6 separate regions of the Homo sapiens genome follow, and regions 1, 2, 3, 4 and 5 are each linked to region 6. Evidence: promoter capture Hi-C in 16 types of primary human blood cells and fetal thymus (Javierre and others, 2016). All regions are on one chromosome and are shown on one strand. The core of a region is centred on a gene start or on the middle of the fragment in contact, and the rest is flanking DNA. Distances in the headings are between cores, read along the strand shown.

Region 1 (4,322 bases), core at 940-3,439, about 15 Mb before region 6:
GGTCTATTCAATAGCTGGACAGGGTTTGAGGTTTGTCATTGCTGTGGTTACACTGAGTGTACCCCAGGCTTCAATAATATCCTCTAATAATATCTGTGTTTAAGGTAAGGGTTGATTTCCCATGGTTGTTTTCTCAATGCATGTTTCTCCCTTAGTTTTGGGTGTTCCATTTGTGCTGCTCCCCAGAGAGAATCTCTCTTGCAGGCTTCCTAGCTGTACTCTACTATTGCTTCTATTTGATTCTTGTTATCTTGGTGGGGGTTGAGTAGACGGAGGGATAGCATTCTCTTATGATCTCACTAAGCCTCAGTCTTAGGCAGACACCATATCCCTAAGTCTTGGGGATGTGGCCTTCACAAGTGCTCTTGCCGCTCTGCCAGCTGTAGTGCTAGTCCTAGAGCATATTCCTCCCCTACTCCCAGAGATATTACTTTTTTTCAGGTCCCTTTCCTAAACTGCAATAGCTTTCTACAAGTCTCCTAAGGCAACTGTTTTTGCTGCTCTTCATTATGCAGTGATAGGGAAGATGGGTTTGGGCTGCTGTTGCCCTCCCCCAGCTAACACCACAAGGAAAGGCTTCTCAGGATTCACTCCCATCTTCCCTATGAGTGCCTGTTGGGATTCCCAGAGGAAAAGCCTACAAGAGACTGCAACCCCCACCTCCCTAATTTTGCAAGTCCCCCAGTGGTTTCACACTTTCATTAGCTGACATTCACACTTTAAAAATTTGTTTAAAAACTTGATAGCTGTATTTTCTTACTGGCTTATATGGTGTCTGGCAGAGTCCATCCCAGGTAAGTAAAGCTTGAGTCCTGTTTCTCTCAGCTGGCATCTTTCTTTCCCCAGATTTAAGATTACTTGGTTGCCCTGTGACCTCAGTTCTCTGAAGGGTCCTAGAAAAATTATTTTGTAGTTTGTCCATTTCCTTGTTGTACGGTAGAAGTTTGTAGTTTCCTTGTTGTAATGATTGAAGCAAAGTTCTTTCCAGCTGTTTACATCCCTAAGGAGAAACCCAAAGTCCCCTCATTACAATAAACTTTTGAGAAGTCCTTCAGTTTATTTTGTCATGGGGCTCAAAAATACCTTGCAAATAAAGTTAGGATTAGGATAACAGTTTAAAGTCAAGTAAATTAGCTAGGATGGAGTGGGAGTGGGAAAGCATTACAAGCAAAGCAGTAGCAATTGGTAAGGCCTCAGAAAAGACGGAATTCAGTATACTGGAGGAACTCAACTTTAAGCTAATTGAGGAAATACTTTAGAAATAAATTCACAAACTAAATGTTATATTCATAACAAATGTTATTTTTCTTTCCACTGCAAAGAACTTACTTCCAGCCATATCAATTTGTTTAGTTTCTGGACTATCATGCATGATTCCCTCCTGAAATGAGCTCTGATACAGTTAAAATGCTTACAGCAACTGCCATATCTACATAATAATATATATTTTTTAACACTCCACTTGCTTGAATCCACGTTTTGCCAAAAACCTAAAACTCATTGAAAGCTCTACACCTGGCAGCATCTCTCAAGGCAGAAATTCTCTAGTTAGCGTGAACTAACTCACAGACTGGGGATATGGCTCTGTGGTGGACAACAGTATTTTCTCCCCCACCCCCAACTCTTTCCTAGTCTTCTCTCCACTATTTCCATGTGTCCCCGGATTCCAGGTCCTACCACACCACTTTGCAACACATGTTTAAATCACAAGGGAAAAGGGCCAATGACACATGAAAGAAGGATATAAGGGCTGGACCCACTTATATAAGGGCACCCACTGATGGCTGGAAGAACAGCATTAAACTCTGTGGGTACCGCTCTATCTGGGATCTAAAGTTGCCAAAGCCAGTTGCAACTACAGGAATCAAAAATTTAATTTCTCAAAAGCTTCTTTACTTTGTTTTCTCTTTAATTTGGTTGGCATGTTTGAAAACATTTTTATTCTACTCTCATACTCAAATAATAATTTGGCTAACTGTAGGCTTCTCAGAAAAACAGTTTTTCCTTAGAAATTTAAAGCAATGTGACTTCACTTTGTGGCTCCAGTGACTTCTAGTGTTGCTGTACATTGACATTCTACTTCTAGATCATTCCAACTTTTTTTTTCCTCTGTAGAAAGTTTTTGGCCTTTCTTCTCTCTTATTGGTTTCCGATAGTTGGTGTGGGTTTTTCTCATTAATCGCACTGAGCTTTTGGTCAGTATATATCACGGACATACGGTCATTTCAATCCGTATATTTATTGTTCTCTTCTAGGAAATTTTCTTGCACGTTTTTGTTTTCATTTTCTCTACTTTCTCTTACGTATAATTCCTAAGAATAGGATGATCTATCCCTTAAACTGATCATCTAAGTGTCTTATATTTTATCTCTTAACATTTCTACTTCTCTCTTAGGGCCCGTATGTTTGAGAAGGAAGCTCCCACTTATGTTAGTTAAACATTAAGTCACAGAGCTCTCCATTAAGAAAACTTTTTCTTTAGACAGGGAGTTGAAGCTTCATAAAACAGTTTAACTGCCTCCTACTTTCCTTCCCTCTAGTTCACTCTAAACATACTTGTATGTATACATTCTAGAAATTTTCTTCCAAAATTTATTACTTTTAAAAACTCGAGGCCAGGCACAGTGGCTCACACCTGTAATCCCAGCACTTTGGGAGGCTGAGGTGGGCGGATCACAAGGTCAGGAGTTCGAGATTGGCCTCGCCAACATAGTGAAACCTCACCTCTCCTAAAAATACAAAAAATTAGCTGGGCATGGTGGCAGGCGCCTGTAATCCTAGCTACTCAGGAGGCTGAGGCAGGAGAATCGCTTGAACCCAGGAGGCGGAGGTTGCAGTGAGTCTAGATCGCGCCATTGCACTCCAGCCTGGGCAACAGAGGGAGACACCGTCTCAAAAAAAAAAAAACAAAAAACAAAAAACACAAAACTCAAACTACAAAAATGTTGGAAGATCAGTACAAAGAATACTTCTAAAACCCTTAATCTATATTCAGCATTGCCACATTTTTCTACCTCTCTTTCCTTCTCTAAAAACATATACACAAACTTCACGTTAACTCTTTCAGAATGTACCTCCAAAAACTAAGAAGCCTCCTACATAAACACAATGCCATTATCACACCAAAGATATTAAACATTCGTACAATAAAATATATTATCTCTATACTTCCCTAGTTGTCGCAACAATATCCTTTAAAACCAATTTTAAAATAAATTGAGGATTTAATCGAGAATTCTATACTTATAAAATGCATCTTAAGTAACACTCCCCTGTTTAAACTTCTTTTTTTCCCCTTGCCCAAAATTTACTGGCTTATGGTAACAGAGAAACTGAGGTATGTGGAAATATGAAAGAAAAAGAGAGTGATGGAATGTGGAATTGGTATATAATGTTTAAGAATAAACAAAATAACCATGGAATACTATGCAACCATAAAAAGGATAAGTTCATGTCCTTTGTAGGGACATGGATGAAGCTGGAAACCATCATTCTGAGCAAACTATCGCAAGGACAGAAAACCAAACACCACATGTTCTCACTCATGGATGGGAACTGAACAATGAGAACACTTGGACACAGGATGGGGAACATCACACACTGGGGCCTGTCATGGGGTTGGGGGAGGGGGGAGGGATAGCATTAGGAGATATACCTAATGTGAATGACGAGTTAATGGGTGCAGCACACGAACATGGGACATGTATACATATGTAACAAACCTGCATGTTGTGCACATGTACCCTAGAACTTAAAGTATTAAAAAAAAGAATAAACAAAATAAAACTGGAAAATCTTAGATATTTTTATATTCTTTTTTTTTGGAGACAGAGTCTCGCTCTGTTGCCCAAGCTGGAGGAGCGCATGGCTCGCTGCAGGCTTCATCTCCGAGATTCAAGTGATTCTCCCATCTCAGCCTCCCAAGTAGCTGGGACCACAGGCATGCACAACCATGCCTGGTTAATTTTGATATTTTTGGTAAAGATGGGGTTTTGCCATGTTGCCCAGGCTGGTCTTGAACACTTGGGCTCAAGTGATCTGCCCACCTTGGCCTCCCAAAGTGCTAGGATTATAGGCCTGAGCCACCATGCCCAGCCTGATATTTTTATATTCTTTATGGAGTCCTTTTTAAAAAGTGTATTTTATTTTAGATTCAAGGGGTACATGTGCTTGTTTGTTACATGAGTATTACCTTAAATTACTTCAATGACAACTTTTATAATTTTGTTTCTGAATACCTCATTAGCTTCATCTTTCACTCCTTGAAAGTAAACTCCAGCCATACATAATTACATACCTTTCTTAAAATATACAAAGCATTG
Region 2 (4,737 bases), core at 1,417-3,916, about 14 Mb before region 6:
CACATGCCTGTAATCCCAGCTACTCGGGAGGTTGAGGCAGAAGAACCTTTTGAACCTGGGAGGTGGATGCTGCAGTGAGCTGAGATCACACCACTACACTCCAGCCTGGGCGACAGAGTGAGGAAAAAAAAATAAAGAATGGATCTTGGTATCAATCATAAGTGGACGTTATAACCTTTAGGTCAGTGCTTCTCAATCCTTCTAAAATTTTTCACGGTCATATCCCTAGGAACCTTTTTAGATACTTTTCTCTAATAGCCACCACTCTCATGAAATTTTATTACCATAGATATACTGTATATATGTTTATGTACTGTGGCCCTTTGGAGGACCACAGATCATTGTAATACCTATGAGTTTTTGTCCTCTTCCTTCTCAAAAACCAAGTTTCACCCACTTGGAAGGTGATATCCTCCACCCTCATTGAGAATGCATGCTTTAGGTGAAAAAAAGGAAAGGATTAAATGGACAGCATTTAAACACATCAATATGACATCACTGAAAGTGGGACATCAGACTGTAAGGGCCTCATGATGTGATGTAATAGGAAGTACACAGCACCAACTATGAATTAAAGGTGATTTAGGGAAAATCTGATCCAAATTCCATCAAACCTCTAGATCTAACTGCCTGTTTACAGAAATATGAAGGAACGGAAAACAAATTATAAGACAGTACAAAGAAGCAATTAGCTAAAAGCAGTATACAGAATATTCTACGGGACAGATGATCTAGTTTTTCTACAAATCAACAGCACCAATTAAACCAAAACAAAACACAGGAGGGAAACTATCATGCATTAAGTAAGTTTAACAGGTTTGGCCACCAAATGCAATGTGTGGACTCTATCTGGATCCAGATTTGAACACACCTATTGTAAAAATATGTCTTTGAAATAATTGGGAAAATCTGAATATGGGGGTATACAAGATTATGAAATAACCACCACGCTGTTACACCAACATAAGAAACAAATTTATTGTTTTAAACTTATTGTTAGTTTTTTTTTTTATGTTGGTATAACAGCATCATGGTTATTTTAAAATATAATGTCCTTTTTGGTAATATATGCTTATAAGAGGATAAAATACAATTTTGAAATACTATAGGAAAAAACGGGGAAGGATTGATACAAAGGTATTTACAAATGTTTTTAATTACAGCTAGGTGTTGAACATGTTGGGGTTCGTATTATTCTTTAGCCTGCTTGAAAACATCCACAATAAAGTTAAAATTTTAAAACTCTTCAAATTTCCCCCAGAAAGTACAGTTATTTTTCATCAAAACCTTAGACCAGGCCAGGCGCGGTGGCTCACGCCTGTAATCCCAGCACTCTGGGAGGCCCAGGCGGGTGGATCACGAGGTCAGGAGATCGAGACCATCCTGGCTAACACGGTGAAACCTCGTCTCTACTAAAAACACAAAAAATTAGCCGGGCATGGTGGCGGGCGCCTGTAGTCCCAGCTACTCGGGAGGCTTAGGCAGGAGAATGGCGTGAACCCGGAAGGCGGAGCTTGCAGTGAGCCGAGACCGCACCACCGCACTCCAGCCAGGGCGACACAGCGAGAATCCGTCTCAAAAAGCAAACAAACAAACAAAAAAATCTTAGACCAGAAAGGACTGCTGTATCATTGGGTGGAAAGGAGAGGTGTAGTGTGGCTGGGGAGTAGAGCTAAACTGATGATCCCATCCCCGCAGCATCATTTATGGGGTGCCTAAGGACCAGTCACTAGCATGGCTGGTTCTTCCTTAGGAAGATGTTGCTGGAGGTAGAAAACGTTTCGGAAAGGAAGAAATTTGAGGTTAGAAAGAAAACAGGAACTTCACACAAGACTTTCAGAAGTGCGATATTCTTTTCCTCTGGGTGCCTCTCTTGGAAAACGCAGAACCGAGAAAAGAAATAAGCATCATAGAACATCAGAGCTCTCGGAGCAGACGAAACAATTTAGGATAACACCAACCTCTAGAAAGGGATTAGTCTTCCCCACAGGGCTGTCAAGCTAGAATAGGACATCTTTAACAGTGGTCTTCTTCCTAAGACACTTCCAGGGGTAAAGCCTCACCATCAGGGAAACTTCAAAAAGAGCCTCTTACTCTGCAAAGAAACTGCAGCAGCTGTAACCGCACGATTCTCAGCTGGCTTAATGATGTCCGTGTCACACGAGGAGTACTGCGGCCCGGGAGGGGCCAAGCGCTAGGAGCATTAACAGGCGGCAGGTGAGCCCACCCCGCGGCCGCACAAGCGCACACGCACACGTCCAGGGCGGAGGAACACTACTAGTAACACCCGCCTCCTTCTAGCCTCCCTATCCCAAAGTTATGGTGCCGATTTTGTCCGCGGCAGGGGCTCCAGGGGCACACTCATAAATTCGGTGCGGAGGAACACAACTAGCAGCACCACACCCCCGCCACTGCCAGAACCAAAGTGACGGTGCCGACACCCCTCCGCAAGCGCAAGGCCGACTTCCATAAGTAATTAGCCAGAGCACCGTCCCGTTCCTGTCAGCACCGAGCCCCAGCCAGGACACCGGTATTCCCAGCACCATACAAGAACTACTTTTTCGATGAAGCAACCCAAAAGCTGCGAGCGGTTCCCGGTGAGGCCGCCCACTCACCTGGCCGGCGCAGACAAGCTCCGTGCGTCAAGACATAACAGCGTAAGTGTACGACGTTGCGCAGCGACGCGGGGGCCTTCGGGAAATGTAGTCTACAACTGGAAACCGGCCGGATCGTGTCTGCGCAGGCCCAGCAGCTAAGATCGGGTCCGGCGCTCCAGAACAGAACGATCCCTGAGGCTCCCTTGCTCGAACTGTGGGACTTACCCTACTATGGTCCGAGCCTACCCTATTTCATTATACTCAAGTAACGCCCCAGAAATTCCAGAGAATCTCACACAAAGAGGTTGAGTCTTGCCGTGGTGCCTTCAGGGGAATGTCATCCCGGGCTAGAAGAGCTGCAAAAGGCTGTCAGGTAAGGTCTGGATTTCTCTCTGACAGCTCTGGCCGTGACGCAGTGGCCACGATACCGGGTTGCTGCTCAACGGGGTTCGGAAGTGTGACGCATTCTTTGCGGCCATGTGTGTGTGTGTGCGTGTGTGTGTGGGTCTGTGCGCGCGCGTGTCCGAGTGTCCTCTGTGGGTGCAGAGTGGGTAGTGGCCATGCCTGTGTGATGTGCGTCAGATTATGCTTGAGGCTATTAGTGGCGCATTTAGTATTGTGTGCGGAAGGGTCTTGGGAATGGTTTGATTATAGCTTTGAGGGTGACTGATGTCTGTTTAATCAGATTCAGCCTGCGACTGAGTATCTTATAACCTGTAAGAAATTGATTTTTCTTTGCATGGTCATGAATTTAAAATAGATTCCCATGAAATTATATAAATGTAGTGAATGATTCATTGAGAGTTCGCCTGTGGCAGTGAATGTGGGGAAAGAAGTGTGTGAGCATAATATGGTGAGAATGAGCACGATTGTGTGCAGCGCTGTATTATAGTGATATCTCCTGGCTTCAGTTTTCTCACCTGTAAAGTGAGGGTGTCAGTCGTGTAACGCTTTGGAACAATGCTTTTTAATAGGAATTTCTGCAAAACTGAGTTCCATTTTTTATATCTGTGCTCTCCAATATAGTAGCCACTAGCTACATATGGCTATTGAGAAATTGAAATGTGGCTGGTTTGACTGAGGAACGAATTTTTTAAATTGTGTTCAATTTTAATAAATCTAAATGTAAACAGCTATATATGGCTAATAGTCTTCCTATTGAACAGTACAACCTGGAGCATTAATTTGCCTTCAAGATTTGAAGGGGGTAAAAACTTAATTCATCTAGCAAATATTTGAAAATGAAATTCTTAAAACTTCCTTAAATTTTTTTTTAAATTTGAGATGATTGTAGATTCATATGAGGTTGTAAGAAATAATAGAGACATTGTGTGTTATCTTCAACTTAGTCTTCTCCAATGACAACATCTTGCAGGACTGTAGTATAATATGACAACCAGGATGTTGACATTGATAGTCAAGATAGATCATTTCCATCACCTCGAGGATCTGTTGTGTTGCCCTTTTATAGACAAATGCACTTTCTTCCCTCTTGTTTGAAGATATTCGCGTCAACATTAATGATAATGTAGGCATACCTCATTTTATTGTGCATCATTTTATTGCACTTTGCAGATACTGTATTTGTTTGTTTTAAAGAGACAGGCTCTCACTGTCTCACCCAGGCTGGAGTGCAGTGGTGCAGTTATAGCTCACTGCAGTCTCGAACTCCTGGGTTCAAGGGATCCTCCAGCTGGCCCACAAAGCCTGAAATATTTATTATGTGGTTCTTTGCAGGAAAAGTTTGCAGACTCCCAATCTATATTATTTCTGATGGCTACTTTATTTTCTATTATATGGATACACTAGAATTTATTTAACCTGTTCTTTATTGAAGTCTAATTTATGTTTGTATCTAGCTTTTTCCATTTTAAAATTAGTCTATCTGCACCTGTCTGCATATATCCTAGTGAACATATATAATTATTTTCCTTAGACAGGGTCATAGGAGTGGGATTACTGAAACATCTGGCTCATATTATTAAATTCTGCTAATATAAATTTCTAATTTACCCTCTTTAAGGTGGCACCAGTGTATAACATGGCGTGAGGGCATCTATTTTACTCCAGTTTAACATGTTATTATCAGTCTATTCAATGTTCCCGTGTTGTAAATATAAAATGCTATTTGCCACTTTAA
Region 3 (4,886 bases), core at 1,649-4,148, about 15 Mb before region 6:
AGCGCTGTGCCTCCTTTTAGGCCAAATTTGGGGCCCTGTACCCTTTTAAATGATGACAGTGTCTAGGGCCACCACATTTAGTTCAAGGCTTGGACCTATAGGCATAAGCTCACTGGAACAGGTGAGAGCTGATGGTCACTGCAGGTTGGGTTAGCCCAGAGCCTTGGAGCTAGTCTGCCTAGAGGCTCCTTTCTCGAATTCCTCTGCCTAGAGGAATCACACTGTCATAGGCCATAAATGCTAATGATGACCTTGGCAGGGTCCTATCTTTCTGCAGACTATGATAAAGTTCTGTTACTTCTTTTCTCACTCCCTCTGTTCCCTGGCCCACATCATTACTCAATACTCTGAATAGTATGCTTTTTCTTTTAAAAATGAAGGTATAATTTACATATAATAACACAAATAAGTGTTCACTTTGATGAGTCTTTGACAATTACGTAGGCCCATGAAACTACCACATAAAACAAGACATAGAACATTTTCCTCACCCCCTAAATTATCTTCGAAGTCATAGCCCCAGCCAGGCACAGTGGCTTACGCCTGTAATCCCAGCACTTTGGGAGGCTGAGGCATGCGGATCGCTTGAGGTCAGGAGTTTGAGACCAGCCTGGCTAAGATGGTGAAACGCCATCTCTACTAAAAATACAAAAATTAGCCGGGTGTGATGGCGCATGCCTGTAATCCCAGCTACCTGGGAGGCTGAGGCACGAGAATCACTTGAACCTGGAAGGAGGTTGCAGTGGGCCGAGATGGAGATCTCACCACTGCACTCCAGCCTGGGAGACAGAGTAGAGACTCTGTCTCAGAAAAAAAAAAAAAAAAAAAAAAAATAGCCCCTGGAGTCAACTGCTTTCTGATTTATAACTCAATAGATCTGTTTTGCCTGTTCTTGAGTTTCTCATGACTGGAGTCCTACAGTGTGTACTCTTCTTTTACCTGTTTCCTCTTTCCATGTGTACTCCTTCCCCAATCAAGAGGTCAGCTCCTTGAGTAGCCTCTATTTTTACTCGAGTACTCAGTCTTCTTTTTCCCAATTCAGTTGCTGAGATATATTTAGGTTCTAATAAATTTTGGGTAAAATTTAATAATGATGCTAATGATCCTTTACTTCTGAATAACACAGAAACACCCAGCTCTGAATCCTTGTTGCTTTATTTACTCACTGAATGATTACGGACAGGTCACCTCACCCCCGTGTTGCAGTTTCTTTTGAAGCGTGATGATAACACTATCTTTACAATGTTTGTGGCAGTCTTTAATGTTATTCCAAAATATCGCCAGCTCTTCCCATCCCAGAATTATGGTAGGATTACATGTCTGCTATCACACTCCTGGGTGGCCATGTGACGTCTCAAAGACTAGTGAATGGAAATGACATGTATAGTTTTTGAGGCAGAACGTTTAATTCCCAGCAAAAGACCCTCAAAGGCTGTCTTTCCCTCGGCCTTCATGAGTGACAATTTACCAGTTGTGGCTGCTTTATTGGTCTAATCCTAGAATAAGAACAGCCCTTGAAGTGAGCAGGCCAGTGATCAATCAGGCATTTAATAGGCACTTTATAAATACTCATTTTACTTCAATATTATTATTTTTGTTTTTTTAGAGACAGAGTCTCACCCAGGCTGGAGTGCAATGGCACAATCTTGGCCCACTGAAACCTCCACCTCCTGGGTTCAGTGATTCTCCTACCTCAGCCTCCCGAGCAGCTGGAATTATAGGCGTCCACCATGCCGGCTAATTTTTGTATTTTTAGTAGAGACGGGGTTCCAACATGTTGGCCGGGTTGGTCTTGAACTCCTGACCTCAGGTGATCTGCCCACCTTGGCTTCTCAAAGTGCTGGAATTACATGTGTGAGCTACCATGCCCAGCCTAAATGGTGATTTTAAATTAATTACTATAATCACTTCAAAGTGTTGTCATATAAACCACTTATATTAAATCAAATGAAGCAAGGACCCTTGACCTCTTTGTTAAATTTTAAAAATCTAGCAGAGCCATAGGCCTTTAATTTTTCCATCGCAAGGAAGAAGAGGAAACTGGTAATAATCTCCTCTGACAGAATAATCTCGCAACTTTAGGAACTTTATTTAAAGAATTCAGAAATGGGGTTGGGCGCGGTGGCTCACACCTGTAGTCCCAGCACTTTGGGAGGTCGAGGCAGGCGGATCACCTGAGGTCGGGAGTTCGAGACCAGCCTGACCAACATGGAGAAACCCCGTCTCTACTAAAAATACAAAATTAGCCTGGCGTGGTGGTGCATGCCTGTAATCCCAGCTACTCAGGAGGCTGAGGCAGGAGAATCGCTTGAACCCGGGAGGCAGAGGTTGCGGTGAGCTGAAATTGCACCAATGCACTCCAGCCTAGGCAACAAGAGCGAAACTCCGTCTCAAAAAAAAAAAAAAAGAAGAAATGTCAATTGTAGCATTTTAACACAGCATTGAAGTTATCTACTGATGCATAGCAAATTACCCTAAACTCAGAAGCTTAAAACAACAAACATGTAGTATCTTACACACTTTCTGAGGGTGAGGAATATAGGAGCTGCTATAGCTGAGTGCTTGTGACTGTGTCTCTCACGCAGTTGCAGTCAAACTATTGGCAGGGGCTGCTGTCATCTCAAGGTTTGACTGGGGCTGGGAGATGTGCTTCCAAGGGTGATACACTTGGTTATAGGAAGGCCCCAGCTACTCCCAGGCTATTGGGTGGAGGGCTTAGTTCCTTGCTACCTGGGCCTCTCCATAGGCTGTCTCGGTATCCTCATGACATGGCAACTAACTTCTCTCAAAGTGGGGGCAGCAGCCTTTAAGACAGAACTCAAGGTGCCATTTATTATATTTAATCTCAGCAGTGACATCTATCACTGCTACTGCATTCTATTAGTCTCACAGTCCAACCCTGGTACAATGTGGGAGGGAACTACATAAGAGTGTGAATAGTAGGAGGTAGGAATCATTGGGAAACATTTTGAGGTCAGTTATTGTATCAGTTGCTAGGATGACCAGTTGGAATTAGGATTTTTTTAAAAAGCCATTTTCATAAGACAAGGCAATCTTTTCTAGAGATGTTCCAATACCTGTGATATGCGGAGCACTGCGCTAGGTGGTATTCAAGGCAGGCCTGTAGTGAATGCTGTTGGACCCAGCCACCACCCCTGAGCAATCATATGCAGACCGCTGGCTTCTTAACTGCAGACACCTACAGACTCAGCCTAAGACTTTCCCACGAGGCAGGCTCGAAGTGCTGGAGCTTTAACACCTCTGGAGTGGCCCTAAAACAATTAGGAAGAGAGATGGTGTAGACATATGTAAGCTTCATCGGCCTGGTGGTTGTGAAAACTTGGAAGTGGTTTCTACACAATCCCCCAGAGGTCCCAAGCTGACTGAGCCCTCATTGATCCAGAGCTAATCTGCTCACCTATGCACTGTATATTCGTTCCCATCGCTCCCGTCTCACTTCTCCATCCCCCACCTACCAAATAAACTGCTTGCACTCATTCTTTCCTCAGGTCGGCTTCTCGGGCAAGCCTCCTTAGGTAAAAACCTTGCTTTCAACATTTCCTTTCCATTATGCGCTAAGAACTCTGATCTCTTCCCGCTGCGGCAGCCCCGCCCTTTCCTTGCGGCTCCGCCCTTTCCGTGAAGTCACGCCCGTCCTTAGGCTGTCTCTGTCTCCCTAAGAGCGAGTCTCTTCGCTGCTCTCTAACTCCTAGAGCTGGCTCAGAAAGAGTTTCACATTGCCATAGGGGAGCTCCTAGGAGAGGCTGCACCCATTGCACGTAAGAAGCGGTAAAAATGTACGCGGCCATCTTACCAGGCTGCCGGAGACAAAGAAAGCTCAGCTTTGATGTCTGGGCGCCACCATGTTGGCCACAGGAGGTTTTGGCATCTGAGATGCTGAGTTAAGAGCAGAGACGACATCTCTGTTTAGGGATCCAGGGACACTTCCTTCTCCTTGTCCTAAAATAGCCTTATCTTTTGGTCTAGCAAAGGGCTTAATCATCCGTTTTACGGCACAGTTTTAAACATGGCCGCCCCAGGTAGGAGTCAAGTGGGCGTCGCCATCATACCTCCAATTACAGCTTTGAGAAACCCAGAATCCTGTTCACTGGAAGGTTGCCGGGTGGCGGCTGACAGCCTCAAAGTCGCAATTGAGTCTGCGCACCGGCCATTCAGGATGGGACGACCTTATACCGCGGTGAGGCGGCGTGGCAGGACGACCAATTTCAGATTCAGGGCGCGGATGCAGCATAAATGGGAAGGCACGGTTTGAGAAACGGTCAAACCTGGGACTAGTGGAGGATAGTGAGCTGCCGACTACGGTGGCCGACTGGGTCAGCTATGGGTGCCCGTGAGGGTCAATGACAAGGGAACTGAAGGGTTAAGAGATTCGGCGTCTGAGCCTCGCGGGGCCTCAGTGGTGGCGGACAGAGGTTTGCGGGAGTCAGTGGCACGGTCTCTGAAGAAGATGGATTGGGAGTGTGTGGGAATCAATAAATGCGAGTTCTGTGAAATGTCTTGATTTTCAGGGTGCATGGGGTCAGTAATAGTGGTCTTCATGGGTCTGGGGTCAGTTGGGATTTTTCAGACACTGGTTTAGAGATCTTTAAGGTTAATGATCGGAGCCCGAGAGGATCAGTGATCGGAGGTTCTAAGTTCTGTGGGCAGTAATAGTTTGGGTACTGGAATTGGTGATTGTGGAAACTTTGGGGTTCAAATGAGGGAGGTCAGTGGTGATGAATGTTTGGAGAAATGTTTTGGGCCATCGGTGATTGAGACTTACTTCATATCATCGGTGGAGGATCGGAGAGTATTAACGATTGGACTTTTGTAGATCAGGGAATGGAGAATAGAGTCAAGTGTGCTTATCTTAAAGGTACGCCTCA
Region 4 (4,298 bases), core at 1,020-3,519, about 14 Mb before region 6:
CCATTTTTAAAAAATGAGCTGCGGCTGGGCGTGGTGGCTCACGCCTGTAATCCCAACACTTTGGGAGGCCAAGGTGGGTGGATCACCTGAGGTTGGGAGTTCAAGACCAGCCTGACCCACATGGAGAAACCCCGTCTCTACTAAAAATACAAAAAAAAAAAAAAAATAGCCAGGCATGGTGGCCCATGCTTGTAATCTCAGCTACTCAGGTGGCTGAGGCAGGAGAATCGCTTGAACCCGGGAGGCGGAGGTTGCAGTGAGCAGAGATCGCACCATTGCACTCCAGCCTGGGCAACAAGAGCGGAACTCAGTCTCAAAAAAAAAAAAAAAAAAAAAAAAGAAAGAAAAAGAGTTGCATATATAGTTTGAGAACTGTGATCCACCACTGTAACTCTAAATAGTGTTAAACATTAGATCACAGCTATTTATCCTGTGACAGATTCTTTACAAACATAAATCTTATTATTTGTATAATATCCAATCCCTTGGACGCTGTATAATTTTCTTAACCATTCCCATAATCTCGTTCATTAGTTTTCTGCAAAACCATTCAAAGGTATAAAACTCTTTGATTCCAGATCTAAAACCTGAGTCTAAATAATTTGGATTATGGACATCCTAGAAAAATGCAAATTAACAAACATGTACAGGAATTCTTTATAGAATTTCAGGGGGTTTGTGATGTCCCTTATGCCCATAAGGGCATTGGTCTACAGACAGTACACCAATGACCGAGAATTCCTATTTTGGAAAACTTAAATTCTGGCTCACTTCCTTCACATCACGGCTAAGTTCATATTCTTGTTGCTTTTGATCTACAGAAATCCAAAACGGAATATCCAAAATTGCCTCATAATACTTAGCGCTTATGTTTCCCCCCTCCAAGGCTGCAGGCGCGTAATTTCATACACACGACCAGAAGGAAGTATGTTGGATGGAACCTGCAATCATCCTTCACTGCAGGTTCTTGGGGTCAGAATTCAAGGCCGTGTTTGTTAAACATGTAAATGAAACTCCAAGAACCGGGAGGTGGGGGCGGAGTAACAACCCTTTTCAGGAGGGAATCCTACACTCGAAACTGACAAACCCTGCCAGACCAAATTTTAGTCAGGCTACTACACCTTCAGCTAGGCCCATCTGTACACTTCACTGTAAAATCTGGCTATAGCAAAGAACTATTCTAAGTCAGTTTAGCAAGACCCTTTCGCCTCCGTATCTTCATCCTCCACCGTCCCCCAGGTCTCTCTCTCCAGAAATAATCCTGTTAGGTGCGTTTAGTCAGAATCTTCCTTAACCCAGACATTTCCTCTTAGTAATTTCTCATCCAGTGATCCCTAACCTTCTTGGCTATAAATTCCCACTTGTTCATGCTGAATTCGGAGTTGAGCCCAATGTCTGTTACCCACTGCAAAATCTCACAGCCGGGATCCCAATACCTACCACCATGGTCCTGAATAAAGGGTTCTTTGCATGCTTTAACAAGTGTCACTGAATACTTTTTTATTTAACAGAATCTATCATACCTTTCTTAAGGGCAATTACTCTTCTAAGCTTCTCATCCTATCTGTTTCTTCTCACTGGAAATCTTCATCTAAGACTCAGTATCTGATTTCCCATTGGGACCATTTCTCTGTTGTAGTCGTACTAGGCTGAGGAAGGCACAGGAAGCAGCAGGGAACCTGGAGCCAAGGGTCAATAGACCCCACAGAGCCCAGCGAAGCACGCTTTACAAAGGACACACACGGCATGTACAGGTCACACAAGGTCGACTACGCACCCCTCACAGTCCCGCAACTGCACCCACGTCACACAGGCAAGCCGGTCCTGTCGCCGCTGCGCGGTCTCTCACGCTCCCCGCCTGTCTCCTAGAGACGGGCCCCTCCTCCGCAGCTCCAGCACCCTAGGGCCTGAGGAGGCGGGAGACTCGCCCGGCCCGCCTGGGGGCCTCCGCGCTCTGAGCGCCTCCTGCAGCCCCACTCTCACCGCCACGCAGGGTACCACGCGGGCGGCGGGCTGGGGCTGCAGAGGCTCCCGCAGTGACCTGCGCCGCCTTCTTCAGGTGGAACCAAAAGGTCCCGGAACCGGAGCCAGGGGTCCAAGTTTTCTCCGTTGCCTTTGTAATATGTAGTCCAAGCCAGAACAGTCAGGACCGCAGGTACCGGTGAGAAATGGAGTCCAGAATCCTAAAAACCTACGAGAAATACGGCAGCGACCACTTGGACCGCGCCTCCCACCCACCGCTCGAGCCCCGGAGACTTCTGGGAGTGGCCGCCTTGCCTCGAGTGCGCATGCGCAGATCGGCCACTACTGGGCCCCTGGCCTGAGGCTTAGGGTGGAGTTAGTGCGTTCTTAGGGCCAGTAGGAGGCGAGTCTGAGTAGAAACTGATCCAGGTAGCCTCGGAAGGGATCACCTGCTGGATGGGTGTGAGCTCCTCAGGGTGGGGCGCCGAAACCCTCATGGCTCCTGAGGTAGAGCCGGCCTCCTTGGTAACACATGGGACTGGGACTTTTAATACCACCCGACAGGCCCAGCTTGTCTCGTCAAGCGCTAAGTAAATGGACTCACGTCCTATATGAGGGTTTGAAGTTCCATCACATTCTTCAATACATGACATTATGTTCTTCATCTTTGGACACGAATATATTTGACTAAAAATTTGACTAAAAAATCATCTGAAGAAATAACTGCTAAATAGTTTTATTATTTTTGTTCTGGAATAGGCTTCTTGAAGATAAAATAAGAAATTTAAAAAATTTTTTTGATCCTTCATGTAATACTTTGTAAATCTTCATAGTTATTTAGAAGCATCCAAAATTTCCAAATGGTAAAAAACGAATAAGAAAAATTTTTAGGTAAGTAAATTTGGGGGAAATATTTACAACAGCTAAAACGGACAAATATTTAATAGTCCGAATTTCCTGTTTCTTTGGCTTAATAAAATATTGATGAATACAGGCTGGGCACGGTGGCTCACGCCTTTAATCCCAGCATTTTCGGAGGCCAAGGCAGGAGGATCAGTTGAGGCCAGAAGTTCAAAACCAGCCTAAGAAACATAGTGAGACACCCCTCTCCTCCTCCCAAACTCTACCAAAAATGAAAGTTAGCCTGGTGTGGTGGCACACGCCTGTGGGCCCAGCTATTCCAAAGACAAAGGTAGGAGGATCAGTTGAGCCCGGAAGTTCAGGCTTCAGTGAGGTATGATGGTGTCACCGCACTCTGGCCTGAGCAACAGAGCAAGACCTTGTCTCAAAAAATAAATAAGTAAAATTAATTTAAAAATAAAAAATATTTGTCTATACCCTAAGAGGAAAAGGAACAAAACTAAAAAATCACCATTCAAAAATACAAATAGTCAAGGAAAAAAAACTATTAAAGTTACAATTTAAGAACTTATTGATCACTTTTTCTTCTCTTAATTAGTTCTTGGATTTGTTGCTCCTGAATCTCCTGAATAATCTCTCAGAAATACCACACATAGATCAATGGATTAAATTGACTCCACATATTATTTTCTTTTTCTTTTTTCTCTTTTTGAGACGGAGTTTTGCTCTAGTTGCCCAGGCTGGAGTGCAATGGCACGATCTTGGCTCACTGCAACCTCCACCTCCCAGGTTCAAGCGATTTTCCTGCCTCAGCCTCCTGAGTAGCTGGAATTACAGGCATGCATCACCATGCCCAGCTAATTTTGTATTTTTAGTAGAGACAGGGTTTTACCATGTTGGTCAGGCTGGTCTCGAACTCCCAACCTCAGATGATCTGCCCGCCTTGGCCTCCCAAAGTGCTGGGATTATAGGCATGAGCTACTGCGCCCGGCTCCACATACTATTTTCAACAAGGATACCAAGGCATTTTAAGGAAGGGAAGAGTAGTCTTTGTTGAAAAGACTGGAATTAGAGATGCACATAGAAAGGAATGAATTGAGTTCCCTGCCTCTCACCATATACAAAATCAACTCAAAATGGATCAAACACCTAGGTGTAAGACTTAAAACAGTAGAACATTTAGAAGGAAATGTAGGCATAAATCTTCTGGACTTTATAGTCAGCAATTGTTTCTTAACCGTGACATCAGAATCACAAGCAACAACATCAAAAAAGGAAATTGGACATAAATTGTAAAACATTGTGCTTCAAAACCCACCAAGAATGTGAGAAGCTACCCAAAGAGTGAGAAAAATTGTTTGTAAATTATGTATCCAATAAGGGATTTGTATCTAGAATATATAAAGAAGTCTTGCAACTCAATAATAAAAAGCCCAACAAAAATGGGCAAAGTAACTGAATAAGCATTTCTCAAA
Region 5 (4,819 bases), core at 693-3,192, about 15 Mb before region 6:
ATGTGCCACCACACCTGGCTAATTTTTGTATTTTTAGTAGAGACAGTGTTTCACCATGTTGGCCAGGCTGGTCTCAAACTCCTAAACTCAGGTGATCCACCTGCCTTGGCCTCCCAAAGTGCTGGGATTACAGGCGTGAGCCCAGCTCAGTGTCAAGTTTTTAAGAACTTTCTCTAACCCCTGTAGGCAGAAGCAATATTATGAGTAGAACACCCATTTCTTTACACAAAATTTTGGGAACTCTGGATTAAAGTATTTGAATTTTAATGGAATTGATGCTCTGCTCTGCTTGGTCTAGCACAGTTTTCAGAGATACAGTGAATACTTTCTGGTATTGTTTTTGATCCCTTTCTAGCTTCTTGAAATTTTCTTCAAACCACTCATTGATTAATTCAACTGAGTCAGAATTTGAATACTTCACATGTGCCAGGTTCTATTCTGTACCTGGGGATAAAGCAGTGACCAAAGCCAAAACATACTCTGCCCTCATGGAGCTTAAATTTTAGTTGAGGAGGGTGAAGAACAGGCAATGAATAAAATAATTAAGTGCAGTGGAGAAAAATAAAGGAGGGTTAGGAAATAGGGAATTGGGGTGGAAGCAGTGCTATTTTATACTGGAATAATCTGAGATATACAAAGGCCCTGAGTACAAATATGATAACATGGTTACATATTTGAGGATGTAATATCAGAGAGAGCCCAGTGTGCCTAGGGCAGAGGAAATGAGGTGAATATGGTAAGAGATAAGGTTCTTCCATTTATTTCATTTCAGGAGTTGGTGACCTTCAGAGATGTGGCTGTAGACTTCTCCCAAGAGGAATGGGATTGTCTGGATTCTTCTCAAAGACATCTGTACAGTAATGTGATGCTAGAGAACTACAGGATCTTGGTATCACTGGGTAAGGATATCTTCTTGCAAAACTGAGCTTCTGCTCAAAAGGGGCTCTTTGCTACCACTATTGTGAATTTTTGGATAATATCTGCAAAATTTGGCTGAATGTCTGCTGCCTATGCCAAACAAATGGCTTAGTGTTTGTGGATTTGGCAGTGAACATATTCTTGGCCTGTGCCTGAAGCTTCATCTTCCTTATCCTTCTAATACATGTCCTTTACACATTTCTCTTTTTGCTTACTGTAAACTCCCTTTTCCCTGATGAGCTAAGGATTGAATGTGAGTTCTGGAATATCCACAGCATGACAAAACTCTACTTTTTTTTTTCGTATTTGCAGGACTTTGCTTTTCCAAACCAAGTGTGATATTATTGTTGGAACAAGGAAAAGCACCCTGGATGGTGAAGAGAGAGCTGACAAAAGGCTTGTGCTCAGGTTAGTGAAGAGGAAATTGGCAAAAATCTTTGCACGTGACAGCTCAGCTTGACTCAAAGGTATCACCTCTTCACTCTTCAGGCTTCCAAATTCTTCTCAAATGTTCTAGGTTTTCATAAAAATTTGGGGCCATTTAGGATGTTCTCCCACATTTGTTATTTTTAATTATTTCCCTTCTCTTACTTTCCTATCTCCTTTCTAACAAGTCCCATCCCCTCTCAGTTTCATAAGCCTCTCAGTCTTTAAAAAATCTTGTAGTAGTCTTATAAACTTTTTTTTTTTTTTTTTTTTTTGTGACAGAGTCTCGCTCTGTCACCCAGGCTGGAGTGCAGTGGTGCAGTCTCGGCTCACTGCAAGCTCCGCCTCCCGGGTTCAAGCAATTCTCCTGATTCAGCCTTCCCAGGAGCTGGAATTACAGGCACATGCCACCACGCCCAGCTAATTTTTGTATTTTTAGTAGAGACAGGGTTTCTCCATGTTAGGCTGGTCTCAAACTCCTGACCTCACGTGATCTGCCTGCCTCAGCCTTCCAAAGTGCTGGCATTACAGGCATGAACCACTGTGCCTGGCCTCTTATAAATTTTTGAGCTCTACAGAGCATCAGAAGTGTAGGCAGCCTTGGGGACTGAGTCCTCAACCTGAGGGATCTGATGCTATCTCCAGGTAGACAGTATCAAAATAGAGCTGAGGTAGAGGACACCCACTGCAGAATTCATTGCTTGCTTGTTGGTGGAGAGAAACCCCCACATTCAGTCACAGAAGCCTTCTGTGTTTATTGTTGTGGTGCGAGAGAAAAGGAAAAACAGGTTGCATGTGTGATTTTTCCTAAGGTGCTCATTGTGGGGGAGGTTGTCGTGTGTGTGTGTGTGTGTGTGTGTGTGTGTGTGTGTGTGTGTGTATTTGTAACTTTTTTTTTTTTTTTTGAGACAGAGTCTCGCTCTGTTGCCCAGGCTGGAGTACAGTGGCATGATCTCGGCTCACTGCAACCTCTGCCTCCTGGGTTCAAGTGATTCTCCTGCCTCAGCCTCCCCAGTAACTGGAACTACAGGCACCCACCACCACGCCTGGCTAATTTTTTTGTATTTTTAGTAGAGACGAGGTTTCACCATGTTGGCCACGCTGGTCTCCAACTCCTGATCTCAGGTGATCCGCCAGCCTCAGCCTTCCAAAGTGCTGGGATTACAGACGTGAGCCACTGCACCCAGCCTGTAGCTTATGTTTTTGATACTTTAAGAAACCTTTCTATGTTCTGAGTTCATATAGATATCTGAAAATAGTCTTTTAAAGATTGTCCTTTTATATGTAGGTCCATAATCCAATTGGAACTTATTTTTGAGGATTATTTTAAATAAGAATTTAATTTCTGTATCTTATGGAAAACCAAAGGTCCCAGATATTTTTTGAATAAGTGTTCCCTCTGCCTGTTTTTCTGAATGTTACCTCTTAATATACCAGGTTTTAGTCTATATATGGGTTTGACTTTAAGCTTTATTCAGTTTCATTGATCTCTGTTTCCTTATACCAGTACCACACTGTCTTAATAAAAATAGTTTATTAGAAGGATAATTATCTGCTAGGGAAAATCTCTACAGCTTGTTTAAATTCTTTAGAATTTCTTGTTTGCCCTTTGGACATCAATATAAAGTTTAGGGTCAACTTGTAAATTTCTATCAGAAAACAACAAAATGCTGTTAACTTTTGATTCAAATTTTAACTTTTGATTCAAATTTTATTTATTCTGTAATCAATTCTGGAAATTTTAAAAATTCATTAACATGGTATAGCTCTCCATTTATTTAGGTTTTTTCACTTTTTTCAGTGTTTTATAATTTTCTCCAAAAAAGGCTTTGCACATCTTCTGTTAGATTAAATTGTAAACATTAAACATATTAGTTTTGTTGCTGTGTTAAATGTTATCTATATTTTCTGTTTGTTGCTCATATATAGAAATGAAATTAACTTCGTATGCATTGGCCTTATATCCAGCAACCTTGCCAATCTCTCCTGTTAATAATATTTTTAAATATGTTTGGATTTTATGTATGAGTAGATATATTTGTGAATAATGGTAGTTTCTTCATTTTCAATTCTTATACCTTAATTTATTTTTCTGTTGCCTTTGTCGTATCTCCAGTATAATATGAATCGAAGTAGTGATAACAGGCATTCTTGTCCACTTCCGGTCTTAATAAGAATACTTTAGCATTTTGTTTTTTAATAATTTTGATGCTTAAAAGTTTTGGTACATACCCTTTCATTCCTGTTTGCTAGAGTTTCATTGTGGAAAGCTTTTGAGTTTTAACAAATGTTTTTCTCCATCTGTGGGTGATTTTTACCTCTTAATAGGTTTTAGTTTTTCACATCTTAATGTGGTAAATTACATACATTTTCAAATGTTGAACCAACATTGCATTCCCAAGTTAAACCCATCTTTATATCTTTTCCACTTTTTGCTAGTTGCTGTTTGCCAATATTTTGTTTGGGTGTTTTGCATCTGTATTTATTAGTGAATTTGATCTTCAGTTTTCCTTTCTTGTCAGATTTCGGAATCAAGGTTGATTAGTCTCGTAAATTCTCTTTTTCTTCTTTAGAAACATTTGTGTAAAATAAAAATTATTTGTTTTTTGAATGTTTGGTAGAACTTTGTTCATTTTGGCTTGGAATTTTTATTGTTAAAAGAATTTAAACTAATCATTCAATTTGATATGTTCTAAAATTCTAGGTTTTCTATTTCTCCTAGAGGCAATTAGGGTATTTTTTTCTAAATATTTTTAGTTTTGATGTAAGTTTTCAAACTTATTAGATGAAGTTGTCCATTATTTTTCTGGTTCTCAATGATTTCTTGATCCGTGAATTATTTAGAAGTTTGAAATTGAAGGCTTTTGTTTGGTACTTGTTTAATTGTATTATGGTTAGAGAATGGGATCTCTTCAATATACATTTATTGAAAGTATTTTGAGACTTGCTTTATTTCTTAGGGCTAGTTTTGGTAAATATTCTTTGTGTCCTTGAAAATAATATGTATTTTCTGGTTGTTGAATACAGTGTTTGATATTTGCTCATTAGGTTAAGCTCATTAACTGTGCTGGTCAAATCTTCTGTGTCCTTATGAATTTAAAAAAAATGTCTTTGAGCCATCAATTACTGAGAGACATGTTAAAGAAACTTCTACTCTGGTGGTAAATACATAAATTTTTTTCTTGTAATTGTAACAGCAGTTTTTTTTATATTTTGAAGGTATTTCATTTGGTCATATGTTTTTAGAATGTTTTATTTTTCTAGTGAATTCTTATATTATTGTTACTCTCTTTAATTCTAGTGACTATCTGATTAAGCAAAAAGAATTCACTTAATATTGTTATAGCTATATTTGCCTTTTGTTAATATTTACTTGATGTAGTTTTTTCCTACTCCTTTATTCTCCGGCTTGCTGTGTGTTTCTCTTATAAGCAGTATTTGGATAAACATTTTTTAAAATCCAGTCTGATAACCT
Region 6 (4,649 bases), core at 72-2,571:
AAATAGAAAAAATTAGCCAGGCATGGTGGCAGGCACCTGTAATCCCAGCTACTCGGAGACTGAGGCAGGAGAATGGCTTGAACGCAGGAGGCGAAGTTTGCAGTGAGCCCAGCCATTGCACTCAAGCCTGGGCGACAAAAGCAAGACTCCATCTCAAAAAAAAAAAAAAAATGTTTATATACACACTTCAATATGAAGAACAAGAAACACATAGAAAAAAAGAGGGAGACAGAGAAAAGGAATACGAGTTATAAATACAAATTTAGAAAACAATTCAAAAATATAAATACTGGGAAAATAGCCGCCTTTATATACTAACATACAAAACCTGAAACACCCATAAAAATATGCAGTACATTTGCAAGAGGAAGGATAAAAATAGGCTCTTGTTAATTTGTGCGCAGTAATTTAAAAACATAATGTTAAATAGAAAGCCTATTCATCCGCCCCCCTTCACCCCCAAAAAACTTTCATTTTCTGCAGGTTCAAGAGCATGGGTTGTTGTGGAAAGCCAGAGGATTAGAAAACTCATTGTGGAGGAGGTACTCGGACCTGAAACTTTTAGGAAATGTTAACGTTCATCAAGTCTGTTCCAGCCAAAGTTTGAGCTCAACACACACACACACACACACACACACACACACACACACACACACACACACACACAAAACCAGCCAGGGCTCTTGTGAAAAGACTTCGGCTTTCACTTGTCTCTAGACAAAAGACCACCACCCCGCCAGATAAAATAGGAAAACCTGGAATAGACACACACGTACACTGGATTCCCTTAATGATTCATCAATCACTAAGCCTCAGATTAATCCAGAATGTGAAACAGAAGTCACATTCGTTGACAAAAGCCACCCCATCGATTCTCAATCACTGAGCCCCACTGGGGAGTGACCCGCGAGGACCACAATCCCTGACCTCAGTACTCTTGGTCGTTGATCTATTCAGGCCTTTAATCACTGACCACCAGAGCCTCCATGAGGGACCCCAAAGATATCCTATCACAGACACCCACCAGGGACTCCTACCAGCTCCCCTCCAAAAGGAAACACCCGCCCCCGCCTCCCCCAACCCCCGCGCTACCTCCACCATATAGCGCCACCAACAACGCAGACGCCCTCAGAAAGCTCCCTCCCACCACGTTTCCACGCCCTGACCCACACACTGACCTGACTCTCCTTGGAATCGCCGCGACCTCTTAAAAGCTGAACTTACTTCCCTAAACTTCTTCCACTTCTGGGCCCCTCGCCCAACTCCCTCCCCCTCTAAACCTCCAGAGACGGTCAGCCGCGTTTCCATGGAGAGCGGAATGCGGCCTTCCGGCTTTTCCTCAGGAGGAGACGCGTCCGCGCCGGCGTCGCCTCGCCGCTCTGGGGGCGGCCATCTTTGAGTACGTGACGTACAGAAGGCACAGCGGCCGGGAGACGCGGTGGACGGAGGCCTCTTAAACTGTCCGATTTCCAGACACCTCAGCCCTGGCAGAAAATGGAGAGCTTATCAGAGGCTTGAGTTCACACAGGCAGACACGGCGTGGGGGTAAAGTCCTCTGAACAGACACGGAACAGAAATAAGTTAGTCTTCTCCTCGCAGGGGACAGTGAACGGCGCAAACTTCTCAAAGGCCAGAACCCATTATTACCACAAAGGCGCGGCATCCCTTCTTAGCGGTTATGATGGCTGTGACGTCTCAGCTCAATGGAAAATTAAAGTCACCTCTGGGCACCTCAGTCACTATTGTAAATGCGAAGCGTTTTAGAAGCCGTATAAAAACTGAAGCAAGAGAGACTAGAACAAAAAATAAGCGAGCGGTGCGTTGCAGGTAACGGAGCCAGAGCCCTTAGGGGAGAGCATCATGGGGGCGGCCATCTTAGGGGACGTTCGGTGTCCGTACGGCAGAACATATTCTCTCTGAGAAGCTTGCGGTGGAACTGGCCCATGGAAATGTCTTTAGAAGAGAAGAACCACCTGGCTCTGTTCTTGACTCTGGAAAAGAATCCTTTTCTAGAATTATTTAGGTTGTTGCCAGATTAATTTCCTTTAGAGAGTTTCCTTGCCCCCACGACTTCCTATCTTTAAAGCCAACAATAGTATGTGAAATCCCTTTCATATTTGAAACCACTGACTATTGCTGCTGCATCTCTCCGGTTTCTCCTATTCTTAAGTGCTTGGGCAATCCAGAATAATCTCCCAATGCTAAAGTCAGCTGATTAATAAACTTAATTACAATGCAGAGTCCTTTTTGCCATGTAACATAACCATGGGAATTACTCTGGGGTTGTAGATCTGGCTATGATATGATGACACTAATGAATATTTTGCAATAAAAACATACTATTTTAAAATATATATATACATATATCTTTATATATGTATATTTCTACAGAATTATTACAAGTTATGTCTTATGATGGTTTCTTATAAGAAGCAAGGAGGAAAAGGTCCTTAACATTTTCAATTGTGTTTTTTTTAATAATAAAGCATGCATTCTAATTTACAAAAACCACAATAAAGGTACTTTCATCATGTCAGTCTTGAGGCTGAACAACACTTAACATTCTTTTTCCTTTTACCTGTCTGCCTTCTCCCTTCCCCTACACTCTCTATACCCCACCCTCCAGGCTCTCTGTTCCATCATCTTATGCGTATGGCCCCTTTCCCCTGTGCCCTCTTATTACTTCCATCTATCACGCAGACACACACTGTCACTCCCCTAAACACTCTAGTGTTAAACAATTGCTGCTGATTGTTTTTTGACAAGTGCCCTATGGGTAGGAGTGTTCACATAAATAAAGTCAAGCCAAATAGAGAAATACTATGAGAATAGACCTATTCAGCAGGCTGCAAAGCAGGCTTAGTAGTGAACATTCTGTGGGGATGGAGGCTTTTGGGTGTTTCAGAGCCATTTCTGCCATTTTCAGAGCCATTTCTACCTCCTCAAGTGCAGATATTCTGCTAGGGTGCAGATATTCACTGTTACTGTTGTTAAAAGGTGGTTGCTTTTCAAGGCTACCTTGAAGCTGAGGATATGGGGATAGGATTAGGGCAAGCTAAATACCACAAGCTCACTGTGGCCGGCATTGTAGACTTAATTGGCCATTCTAGAAGAGGAACTAACTGGCTTCTAGCCAGGGCCTAAAAACTAGATCTAGATAGCCAAAAAGATTACATTAAACTTCCTCTAGTGTCCCATCTATCAGATTCCAATCCTGAAGGACCAAGTCAATCTCTCTTCTATTTCATCTCCTTTCTCCCATCTTATAAAAGATCTTTGGAAAACTCTGTTTATTTCATATATAACAGAGCTGATATTTGTATGTTTTGTGGAGATGATGTTTCATCATGTTGCCCAGGCTGGTCTTGAACTTTTGGGCTCAAGCAATCCTCCCACCTCGACCTTCCAAAGTGCCAGGATTACAGGCATAAGCCACCATGCCTGTCTTAACATTTAATCTTTTCAAATTACTTCACTATGTATTCTTTTTTGTTGTTGTTCTTTTTTTCTGTTTACTTCACTGTGTATTCTAAGCACAAATAAGAAATTCTTATTTCCTAATTATTGTTTATTTCCATATATATAATATATTTTTTTAATAAGTTTTTTTTTAGACTGCATCTCACTCTGTCACCCAGGTTGGTGCGCAGTGGTGCAATCTCAGCTCACTGCAAACTCTGTCTCCCGGGTTCAAGCAATTCTTCTGCCTCAGCCTCCCAAATAGCTGGGATTACAGGTGTACCACCACACCCAGCTAATTTTTGTATTTTTAGTACAGACATGGTTTCACCATGTTGTTCATGCTGGTCTCAAACTTCTGAACTCATGTGATCCACCTGCCTTGGCCTCCGAAAGTGCTGGGATTACAGGAATGAGCTCCAACACCTGGCCCATTTCCTAATATTTGTATACACTTGCTATATTTTTATTTTTACCACACATAAAAATCAAGGCAAATGCAAGCCATGGATCTTATACATACAAAGGCATGTAGAACTATAATCATATAGTGAATATTCATGCATACTGAGGCAGGTTTTTAGATGCTCAGAGTCTGAAATTGCACTGCATGGTATTTCCATAAAATGTCCTGGGGCATACTCGGACAGAATAGCTCAAGTGCAAATTATAAGCATATATTCCCCAAATTGTATCCTGTTTGAATTCATCAAAGTTGAAATGAAGGAAAAAATAATAAGGGCAGCTGTGGGGAAAAGAAAGAGAGATCAGACTGTTAACTTGTCTATGTAGAAAGAAGTAGACAAAAGAGACTCCATTTTGTTCTATACTAAGAGAAATTCTTCTGCCTTGAGATGCTGTTAATCTGTAACCCTAGCTCCAACCCAGTGCTTGCAGAGACATGTGTTGTGTTGACAGAAGGTTTAATGGTTTTAGGGCTGCGCAGGATGTGCTTTGTTTAAAAAGTGCTTGAAGGCAGTATGCTTGGTAAAAGTCATCACCATTCTCCAATCTCAAGTACCCAGAGACACAATACACTGCACAAGCCCACAGGGACCTCTGCCTAGGAAAGCCAGGTATTGCCCCAGGTTTCTCCCCATGTGATAGCCTGAGATATGGCCTCATGGGAAGGGAAAGACCTGACTGTCCCCCAGCCCAACACCCATAAAGGGTCTGTGCTGAGGAGGATC

Evidence for each region. The method cuts DNA at HindIII sites, captures the fragments that hold promoters and counts their contacts. A CHiCAGO score of 5 or more calls a contact.
Region 1: a fragment that was not itself captured here is called in contact with the fragment with the promoter of ZNF432 in region 6 in 1 of 17 cell types (non-activated CD4 T cells); the score reaches 7.6 in non-activated CD4 T cells.
Region 2: the fragment with the promoter of ZNF571 here is called in contact with the fragment with the promoter of ZNF432 in region 6 in 3 of 17 cell types (non-activated CD4 T cells, total CD4 T cells and naive CD8 T cells); the score reaches 7.7 in non-activated CD4 T cells.
Region 3: a contact is called between a fragment that was not itself captured here and the fragment with the promoter of ZNF432 in region 6, in 6 of 17 cell types (non-activated CD4 T cells, total B cells, total CD4 T cells and 3 more). The highest score is 17.0, in non-activated CD4 T cells.
Region 4: the fragment with the promoter of ZNF607 here is called in contact with the fragment with the promoter of ZNF432 in region 6 in 2 of 17 cell types (total CD4 T cells and activated CD4 T cells); the score reaches 7.4 in total CD4 T cells.
Region 5: a contact is called between a fragment that was not itself captured here and the fragment with the promoter of ZNF432 in region 6, in 2 of 17 cell types (activated CD4 T cells and total CD4 T cells). The highest score is 6.9, in activated CD4 T cells.

The regions. Positions count from the first base shown.
Region 1 is chr19:37,454,074-37,458,395 of GRCh38, forward strand. All of the region lies in intron 2 of ZNF569 (zinc finger protein 569), which reads right to left. Among named protein-coding and RNA genes, the nearest start is that of ZNF569, 11 kb to the right of the region's middle. The HindIII fragment of the contact is 609 bases long and covers 1,886-2,494 here.
Region 2 is chr19:37,592,126-37,596,862 of GRCh38, forward strand. It overlaps ZNF571 (zinc finger protein 571), which reads right to left and starts at 2,667. Exons shown (of 4, transcript NM_016536.5): 1 at 2,616-2,667. ZNF540 (zinc finger protein 540) reads left to right here and starts at 2,751. Exons shown (of 5, transcript NM_001172225.3): 1 at 2,751-2,970. RefSeq lists enhancers at 1,628-2,309, 2,109-2,238, 2,309-2,358, 2,310-2,992, 2,589-2,788 and 2 more. The HindIII fragment of the contact is 14,201 bases long and covers 1-4,737 here.
Region 3 is chr19:37,502,769-37,507,654 of GRCh38, forward strand. It overlaps ZNF793-AS1 (ZNF793 antisense RNA 1), which reads right to left and starts at 4,319. Exons shown (of 3, transcript NR_110723.1): 1 at 4,071-4,319; 2 at 3,078-3,272. It overlaps ZNF793 (zinc finger protein 793), which reads left to right and starts at 4,171. Exons shown (of 8, transcript NM_001013659.3): 1 at 4,171-4,198. RefSeq lists enhancers at 3,089-3,880, 3,881-4,672, 4,238-4,387. The HindIII fragment of the contact is 826 bases long and covers 2,486-3,311 here.
Region 4 is chr19:37,717,492-37,721,789 of GRCh38, forward strand. It overlaps ZNF607 (zinc finger protein 607), which reads right to left and starts at 2,270. Exons shown (of 5, transcript NM_032689.5): 1 at 1,778-2,270. RefSeq lists silencers at 1,772-1,861, 1,922-2,031. The HindIII fragment of the contact is 3,190 bases long and covers 1,550-4,298 here.
Region 5 is chr19:37,475,109-37,479,927 of GRCh38, forward strand. It overlaps ZNF570 (zinc finger protein 570), which reads left to right. Exons shown (of 5, transcript NM_144694.5): 3 at 773-899; 4 at 1,231-1,326. Among named protein-coding and RNA genes, the nearest start is that of ZNF570, 8.2 kb to the left of the region's middle. The HindIII fragment of the contact is 1,736 bases long and covers 1,075-2,810 here.
Region 6 is chr19:52,047,517-52,052,165 of GRCh38, forward strand. It overlaps ZNF432 (zinc finger protein 432), which reads right to left and starts at 1,322. Exons shown (of 5, transcript NM_014650.4): 1 at 1,179-1,322. RefSeq lists an enhancer at 1,105-1,694. The HindIII fragment of the contact is 4,326 bases long and covers 1-1,922 here.